Regions from separate parts of the Homo sapiens genome. Here region 1 is linked to region 2. Evidence: promoter capture Hi-C in human tissues and cell types (Jung and others, 2019). All regions are on one chromosome and are shown on one strand. Each heading gives the region's core, a stretch centred on a gene start or on the middle of the fragment in contact. The rest is flanking DNA. Distances are from core to core; before and after follow the strand shown. Region 1 overlaps LOC101927687 (a long non-coding RNA gene). Region 2 holds the start of FTCDNL1 (formiminotransferase cyclodeaminase N-terminal like).

Region 1 (4,440 bases), core at 542-3,041, 43 kb before region 2:
TGTGGGCCAAGCTGATCTTAAACTCCTGGCCTCAAGTGATCCGCCTACCTCAGCCCCCCAAAGTGCTGGGATTAAGACATGAGCCACTGTGGCAGCGGGCCAATATTGATTCTTTATAGCAGTCCCAAGTGAGTTTATCAAGTCAAAGCCAGAATCAAAATGAATCAGGCATTATATAGCATATTAAATTTCTAGAGCTCAGCTCAGCTCCCCTAATCTCTTAGCAGCAACAAGCAGAGTGGCAGCTCTCTCTCATTGCAGTAGGGAAATAACAAAGCGAGAGTAAAACTGCTGTTGCAAAATGAAGCACATCACCACATTTCCATCTAATGCGTTATACTTCATGAGTCTCCCAGGAGCCAGAAAAACACAACAAAGTCTTTAAAAGTGAATCCAGATGTCGGCCATCACCATAGCAGTGCTTTAATTATCAAAAAACAAATAACTCCTTAGGTACAGTCTAAGCAGGTGTTTGTTCACAGAAAACAGAATAGCTGAAGAAACAGCTGTGGCATTATATCTGCTTCAAGACTAGGGAAGAAAATTACAATCTAAATGACAGAGAGACTACCCAGGGAGAGCATAGAAAAATCACAATTATTAGAATTTTGCAAGTATTAACCTATATGACATAATGACTGATTAATATTAATTACTCCATTTTACAGATGGTAAAACTAAGTGCCTTGTATTATAGTCATGCCTCATTCAAAACCTGTCAGTCTTTGACAAGTTCACTACATGATGAATTTATTTTACAAGATCCTTTATGCATATCATATAGCATGGGCTTATTTTTAAAATATATATATATATTTTAACACAAATAATTTTTGTTTTATGAAACTTAGAAAATAAAAATTAGCAAAAAGGAAACCTTTAAACCATCTCTAATAACTGCTAACTTTTTAGATGAGAGGATTTTACATCTGGATCTATGGTTAGGCTTCACAGGATCTGTGAACCTCTGAACTAACTAAAAAATTACAGTATGTTTTTTCCTGGGGTGAGACTGTATATACCTTTCATCAGGTTCTCAAGGGTCTATCATAAAAATTAATAACTCTCCATTCTCTAGATTTTATATGTTTGACTAGAAGACCAAAGATTCATTACAGCTTATTAGTCGCAGCTTGAGAAGGAAGATGGCCTTTGTCTAAATGTTAAATGGGCCCAAATAAATAGTAATCTCTAAAATTTGGCTTAGCTTTTGTACAGCAATCTTTCAAAATTACTGAATATTAGGAAAATATTTCCTTTCTTCTTTAAGATTTGTACTTTTTGTTTCTGTGCATGTTTTTGTATGTGCAATCTCACAATTACCTGATGGACAAGAAGAATAAACAGATGCTTTTACAGCTCGCCTTGGCGGGAAGATCTGGCACAAATGAAGTATCTATAAGGAGCAGCAGAGTCAAGGTGGTGATCCTGTGGATGAATAACTGAAACCTGATATACTTGACAGCAGAAAATATAAAGCAAATTGAAAAGGAGAGAGTGTGGAGATAAATAAGAAAATGAAAGAACTGATAAAGTCACTTGGATTAAAAAACCTGGGAGTAAGGGCTTTGTTTATGATTGAACTTAAGAGAGAATTGAGGGACCACCTACCTTTGATGTTAACGAGAAAGTAAAGAGGAAACATATTTAGAGATACCCTTTGGTGAAAAACAGAAATGGATGTGTCATTTGATGCATCACATTATTTATTCAACAAACTCTTAGTGAGAACTTACTGTGTATGAAAGACTGGACTGAAACATATATAAGAAATAATTTTTGGCCCAAGGAATTTATAGTATAATTGAGGAAACAAATACAAATCACTTCTGCAAAGTAGCAGAGACACAGATGAGGAATTGTAATGTTTGTAAAATCAAAGTGGTGGGAGTAGTCAAAAAAGTGTTTACAGAATGGTATTCAAAATGGGCCTGAAGGCAGAAATCAGACTGGTTGTTACCTGGAAAACAAGGAGAGAAAGGACAAGGCAGGAGAAGAGAACAAGTACAAAGGCATGTGGGGGTAGGAAGGCATGGCATGGGTAGAAAATGCCAGTTAAATTGACATTGTGGGAAAATAACGAGTTTAGCGTATGGGGGCATAGCAAATAATGACTCTGGTTTCGGCAAAACCCCAGGGGAAAGAAAATGAGATCCTGAACTATGGCAGTAACAGAGGGGAGTGGGAAAAGAGGATTAACTAGAGAAATATTTAGAAACTAAGAATCTCAGGATTTAGTACTTCTTGGGGAAGCCATCGTGAATGCTGGCTCTCAAGCTGCATTATCAACAAACAAAAATATTGATACCTTAAAGTTAAAGTCCCACCCTCCTTTTAGAGACTGTAAGACATAGTTCTATCTTGTCTCACATCTCTACCTCTGTTAATCTCCATTTGGGCCAAGCATCCTCAACATGCCTATTCTCATATTCCTCCAATTACAACCTCCAGGGTCTTCATGTTGCAGAACTCACGGAGTTGGATTCTATGTGAATTGTAAATCGGGTACAAGGTGCATAATGCCCTATTTACCTTTTCCTTAGCTTCCAAATTCTTTTATCATGATCTCCAAAATGCCACCCAGCATGTCTAACTCTGCGATCAACAAAACACCGTATGACCTCAACCTCTTTCCTGAGGTTTCTTGCATTAATGGAAGTTGCCCTGAGCTCTGATGTCCTTGCTTCTCTTGCAGCCCTCCCACGTCGAAGCGGTTTTTTCCTTCACCTTTTTTTTAAGTATTTTAAAATTTATTTTCATGCCTTTAACACCTTATGAATTTGTGTGAATCATTCAAGATTACATCTGCCTTCCTTTCAAACTAGCTATGAGATATTTGATTCACCTTGACAAACTGTTCATTCTACACAACTGGCAATCTCCACAGTTCATTCTCTCAGTTGGGTTGATTCCAACCTCCTCAGAAAAGGGTATCAATGGAATAAGGGTTTTTAATTTTTAACTTTTTTTTCTTTTTTTTTGAGACAGAGTCTCACTCTGTCACCCAGACTGGAGTGCAATGGCTTGATCTCGGTTTACTGCAACCTCCACCTCCCAGGTTCAAGTGATTCTCCTGCCTCAGCCTCCCGAGTAGCTGGGATTACAGGCACCCACCACTATACCCAGCTAATTTTTGTATTTTTAGTAGAGATGGGGTTTCACCATGTTGGCCAGGCTGGTCTTGAATTCCTGACCTCAGGTGATCCACATGCCTCAGCCTCCCAAAGTGCTGGGATTACAGGTGTGAGCCAACACGCCTAGCCCAATTTTTTATTTTTTATTATACTTTAAGTTCTGGGATACATGTGCAGAACGTGCAGGTTTGTTACCTAGGTATACACATACCATTGTGATTTGCTGCACCCATCAACCCGTCATCTACAGTAGCTATTTCTCCTAATGCTAGCCCTCCTCTAGTCCCCAAACCCCCAACAGGCCCTGGTGTGTGATGGTCCCCTCCGTGTCCATGTGTTCTCATTGTTCAACTCCCACTTATGAGTGAGAACATGCAGTGTTTGGTTTTCTATTCCTGTGTCAGTTTGTGAGAATGATGGTTTCCAGCTTCATCCATGTCCTTGCAAAGGACATGAACTCTTCCTTTGTTATGGCTGCATAGTATTCCATGGCGTATATGTGCCACATTTTCTTTATTCAGTCTATCATTGATGGGCATTTGCCAAGTCTTTGCTATTGTGAACAGTGCTGCAATAAACATACTTGTACATGTGTGATAGTAGAATGATTTATAATCCTTTGGGTATATACCCAGTAATGGGATTGCTGGGTCAAATGGAATTTCTGGTTCTAGATCCTTGAGGAATCACCACACTCTCTTCCACAATGATTGAACTAATTTACACTCCCACCAACAGTGTAAAAGCATTCCTGTTTGTCCACATCCTCTCCAACATCTGTTGTTTCCTGACTTTTTAATGATTGCCATTCTAACTGGCATGAGATGGTATCTCATTGTGGTTTTGATTTGCATTTCTCTAATGACCAGTGATGATGAGCTTTCTTTCATAAGTTTTTTGGCCACATAAATATTTTCTTTTGACAACTGTCTGTTCATATCCTTTGCCCACTTTTTGATGGGGTTTTTTCTTGTAAATTTGTTTAAGTTCCTTGTAGATTCTGGATATTAGCCCTTTGTCAGGTAGATACATTGCAAAAATTTTCTTCCATTCTGTAGGTTGCCTGTTCACTCTGATGATAGTTTCTTTTGCTGTGCAGAAGCTCTTTAGTTTAATTAGATCCCATTTGTCAGTTTTGGCTTTTGTTGCCATTGCTTTTGGTGTTTTAGCCATGAAGTCTTTGCCCATGCCTTTGCCCTGAATGGTGTTGCCTAGGTTTTCTTCTAGGATTTTTATGATTTTGGGTTTTACCTTTAAGTCTTTAAGCCATCTTAAGTTAATTTTTGTATAAGGTGTAAGGAAGGGT
Region 2 (4,450 bases), core at 903-3,402:
AGTGTTACAGAACAGCAGTTGTCGTAGATAGAACTGACCCATGGGAGTTTCAGTTGCTCTATTCCAGGGCTTATATCTTTCTGGACAGGAACCATAATGAGCAAAAGAACTAATGCCCACAAGGTGAATTTAGCAGAAGAATCAAGGAGTCAGAATAATACATTAATTCAAAAAGTAGGAAGACTCCCTCCAAAGAATGCTAAGTTAAATAAAAATGAGAGACTTAAGATGCACACAGAAATGTGACATAAAGCTCTTTTATGTAGTGAAATGGGCAGGAGTACATGCGGTACACCTAAAGTAACCGATGGTAACTTTCCATTCTTGAAGAGAACAAAATAATACTTTCAATCGTATCGCTAAACTTCTCATGGGACAGGTTGGTATGTGTCTCCTTGTATTTTCCAAAAATACATGCTTACCCTCCTCAGGCAGGGGCCGGATGCTGCCCCCCACAAAGAACACTGGGGCCCTGCTTTCTCTCCATTTGGGTTTGAAGTGAGTAGAGTGGAGAAAGGGATGCTTTCAGAAATGTTATCTTACTTAATGCCCCCATAGCCTGTAGCTCCGTAAGGAACAGTCTCTCGGGAGAAAGAGAGGATTAGGAGCTGTGGGGGGAAAAGCTTTCCTTCTGGCAGTTTCTACAGCTAGAACCATGAAGCCCCCAGGTGTCACACTGTTTTCTCTGGAGAAATATTATAAGATTAGATGTAATGTTATTACGCTGTCTCATTTGGCAAGTAGTATCATTATCCGATTGTTTGGAAAGGTGAAATACAGGGGATTCTGGTTCTTTGCCCTACCATGGAAGGAACATTTGGACACCACATTACTTTTTTTGGAAAACGGAAGCTAAAGCTAGAGGCCAAAAAAGCTCTCAAAAGAGAAGATGAAGAAAGTTAGGAATATTGGTCTGATTAAAAAGCTCTCAAAATTATCTAGTGAATGCTGACATTAGATAGGTATTGGTCTTTAGGTAATAACATGGGTATGTATCTACTTTATGCACTTCTATGCAGATTTAGTAGAAAAAAATACCTAAATATATATTTAATTCCATAGGATCCCAGTGCATTTTGAGGATTTAAACAGATAAGCCAACCTCAAAGGGACTGATTCTTGCAACTAAAACACAGACACCTCTGGGGTGAAATGTGGCAACAGTTTGACAGGCATAGCAGTAGCTTAGGCCAGAAAGGATTTATCCAATTAAAATTATGGGATGAATTTTGGCTGGCAGAATGTAATTACCAGCCTTGGAATGGATCCAGGATCCTGAGGTTAACACCCCTCCTCTTGCCAACAACCCTCCTACCTGCCAACACTCCGAGATGGAGAAGGCTGGATCTGACATAATCGCACATAATACTGTTGTGACATCTAAGTACAATGATGATGATGTGAGAAGCATCATGAACCTGATTTTTTTTAACACTCATTATGTTACTTATTTTTATGCCACATTAGGCTAGAAACCAAATGTCCACATAAATGTTAATTTCCTCAAATCTGTGTTTAAAAATTATAATTAGAAAATAAAAAATAGATTTAAAAATTAATTTATTCCGTCAAAGTAGTTATTTAGTGATTATTTCACTACAGGAACAAAATTGGATCAAAATGGTGACATTTAATCCTTGCTACACGAAAAAAAAAAAAGCAGGTCCTGATTTTTTGGAAGCGAAATGTGTTTTCAAGGTTGAGTGGCCTAGAAAAAAAGGAAATGCGGAAGCCTGATTCATATTCGTTGTAACTTTGACTAAATGGGTATGCGCAAGGACTGCTTTTGTCCCGGGGTGGGTCCAGTTCACAGTCACGGGGGGCACTAATCCTCCAGGAGGGGATTTACCAGAAGGGTGTGTGTGAGTGCGTGTGTCCCTTCCAAGGAAACGAGAGAAGAGCCCCCTGCTGGTGCATGATCAATAGGCAAAGACCTGATCATTAGATGCCAATGCCCCTTTAAAGTCATTAATTGACTAGAGAATTGTGGAGGGTCTGGCGATACGGAAGAGCAAACGAAAAGGCAACACTGATAAAAATCTGAAGCGTTCAAGGACGCCAGGCACGTGGTGCCGGGTCAGGGAGGGAGAGGCAGAGCCAGCCCGGTCGGTGTGCGGCTGGGGTGGGGCGCGCTCCGGGCGTCCGGGAGGCGGAGCCGGCGGCAGACGCTGCGCGCGGGCCACGCGCGGCGGCGGAGGCTGCGCGCGGGCCACGCGCGGCGGCGACTTGGGCTGGGCGGTCGCCCTGCCCCACCGCCCTTCGGCGCTCGCAGGTCCGCTCCCCTCCCAAACCGCAGAGCGGCAGGCGCGGCCGCTGGTTCGAGAGCTCGGCCGGGGCAGCGCAGCCGCCGGCTGCCCCTCGCTCCCAGGCGCCACAACCCCGCGCCCTCGCCGCTGCTGCGTCCCGCGAGACCTGTGGGGAGGCCGGGAGTCACTTCGGGTTCCCTTTCAGCCCACGTGGTCCTGGGACACTCCACCCAGGAACCTAGTCGGCACCGCGCAGGGAATCCCAGCAGCGGGGTTCTGGCCCCAGCACGCGTTGCGGCAGCCTGGCGAGCGTCCTTGCGGCCTCCAAGTGCCGGTGGGGTGCGTGCGCAGGGGGCAGGTGAACTGCTGCACTTTGCACTTGCTAGGCTAGGTTCTCCGCGGGTGGGGAGGCGCGGGGGCGGGGGACGGCCGAGTGTTTAATCTATCACCAGAGGTCATCCAATGGTAATTGAAGGATGAGCTGGGAGGACTAGGATCTCCCTGTCCCAAACACAGAGTGTTTTGGGGGGCTTGCGTTTGGGTCACTTTCTGAGCCTGGTACTGCCGCTCATTTCAGCTTCGCTGTGAAGGTGAATTTTTCTAACACCATCTTTGTGTGATTTAGCTGTCCACAGGGAATCAAAATGTGGAATGAGAGGATGAAACTAATCCTTTCTTTTGCACTGTTAGGGGTTGCCATAAACACCATTTGTTAAAAAGCATAATTATGTTGGGAAAGTGCCTGATGAGACAATTAAGCTGCATAAACACACTGAAAACAAATGAAAACCAGAAGACGCCCACACCCCTTGTGTAAAGCAATTTTTTGTTTACATAGAAACGAGAGGTCTGGGTTGCTTTATTACAACAATGTTATTAATATCTAGAAAAACCTAATGACAGAATTTTTATGAATTTTCAGTGATGAGATGATGGACATGATATGAAAACCTGCCTGCAAACCTGAGCTAGCTACGAAGCCTGAGCTCTCTCTAGGTTAAGATGATTAGGCCAACGAATGATCCTGGCGAACAAGCCAGTGGATTTATTGAGGGAGAGCACCATTATTTGCACCAGAGCACTTTTAGCTTAAACTCTAAAGTTTAACGCGTGTCTCAGAGTTAGACCACTGTGGTTGGTATCCCTCACACAGGGAACAGTGGTTGGTATCCCTCACACAGGGAACATTACCTGTCAGAAAAAGACCCTCATTAAATATTTGTTGAATGAATTCATGAGGGCCTCATCTATTTTTAGTTATGGTATTTAAAAGAGACCAAAGTTATGAGGTCCTGAACTTGAAGAGGGAAATTATTTTCTTATTATTTTAAGATGTTTTAATTCCTTTAGATCATGAATATCATTTGAAGTATGGAAAGATGTGTCAAAAATGCTATTCTAGAGTACTAAAAAGTATCAAAGCAACCTCCAAAACCTGTATAATTAATTTTCAACAAAAATCACATTTTTGATATTATTGAATAATATGTATCAGAATATGTATCATCTTTCAAGTTACAGAATTTTGTAAAAAGACTTTAAACTGATTTAGAAACTTTGGTGGAACAAGGAGGAACTTAGACAATTGTCATGTAAACCATCCAAATGGCTTCCTTATTTATTTGTATAATGTCCATGGCATGGCCTGTAGACACTTTCATTTTTGCTGCAAGAATTTCTTTTATAAGAATCCACATATTAAATAATCTTCCTCATTTTCTTTTTCTGCATTTCCCCACTAAGTCTAGTTTAACAACAAAAAAAACATACCTGTTTGTAAAATAGTACAGACCTTGAAAACAGGGATAAGGCTAAGGAAAACTATGCTTAAAATGGGATAACATACTTTAATGAAAAACTTTCACTTACATGATGAAATTCACGCTGAGGACCCTGCCAGGTATTTTCCAGTGTCGTTACAAGGTTTATATGTATGTGACCATGTACACATGGTTTCTTATTTTAGTCAATCTGGAGATTTTATGCTTTAGAATTTTTCTAGGAATGAAATAGTAAAGTGCTCATATTATGACTGCTTCGTTTCCAAAAAGTTATGATTTTTTTATAGTTAAAACATGAAAATATGAATCAACTCTAGAGACACATAAAAATTTTTCTCCTATTCCAGAAAAATCATGTCTTCTTCCAGAGTGGGGCTCCGTTTGGCTGCCTGTTTACTAAACGTTTCAGAAGCCGGAAGAAAA

Evidence for each region. The method cuts DNA at HindIII sites, captures the fragments that hold promoters and counts their contacts. A contact is called where the count stands out against the background at its distance.
Region 1: a contact is called between a fragment that was not itself captured here and the fragment with the promoter of FTCDNL1 in region 2, in 1 of the 25 tissues and cell types used here (aorta).

What each region holds. Positions count from the first base shown.
Region 1 is chr2:199,891,562-199,896,001 of GRCh38, reverse strand. The region is part of intron 2 of LOC101927687 (a long non-coding RNA gene); the gene reads left to right. Among named protein-coding and RNA genes, the nearest start is that of C2orf69, 18 kb to the left of the region's middle. The HindIII fragment of the contact is 9,555 bases long and covers 1-4,440 here.
Region 2 is chr2:199,848,894-199,853,343 of GRCh38, reverse strand. FTCDNL1 (formiminotransferase cyclodeaminase N-terminal like) reads left to right here and starts at 2,152. Exons shown (of 5, transcript NM_001363886.2): 1 at 2,152-2,604; 2 at 4,375-4,450. The coding sequence starts at 4,382. RefSeq lists an enhancer at 1,686-2,260 and a silencer at 2,092-2,371. The HindIII fragment of the contact is 10,346 bases long and covers 1-4,450 here.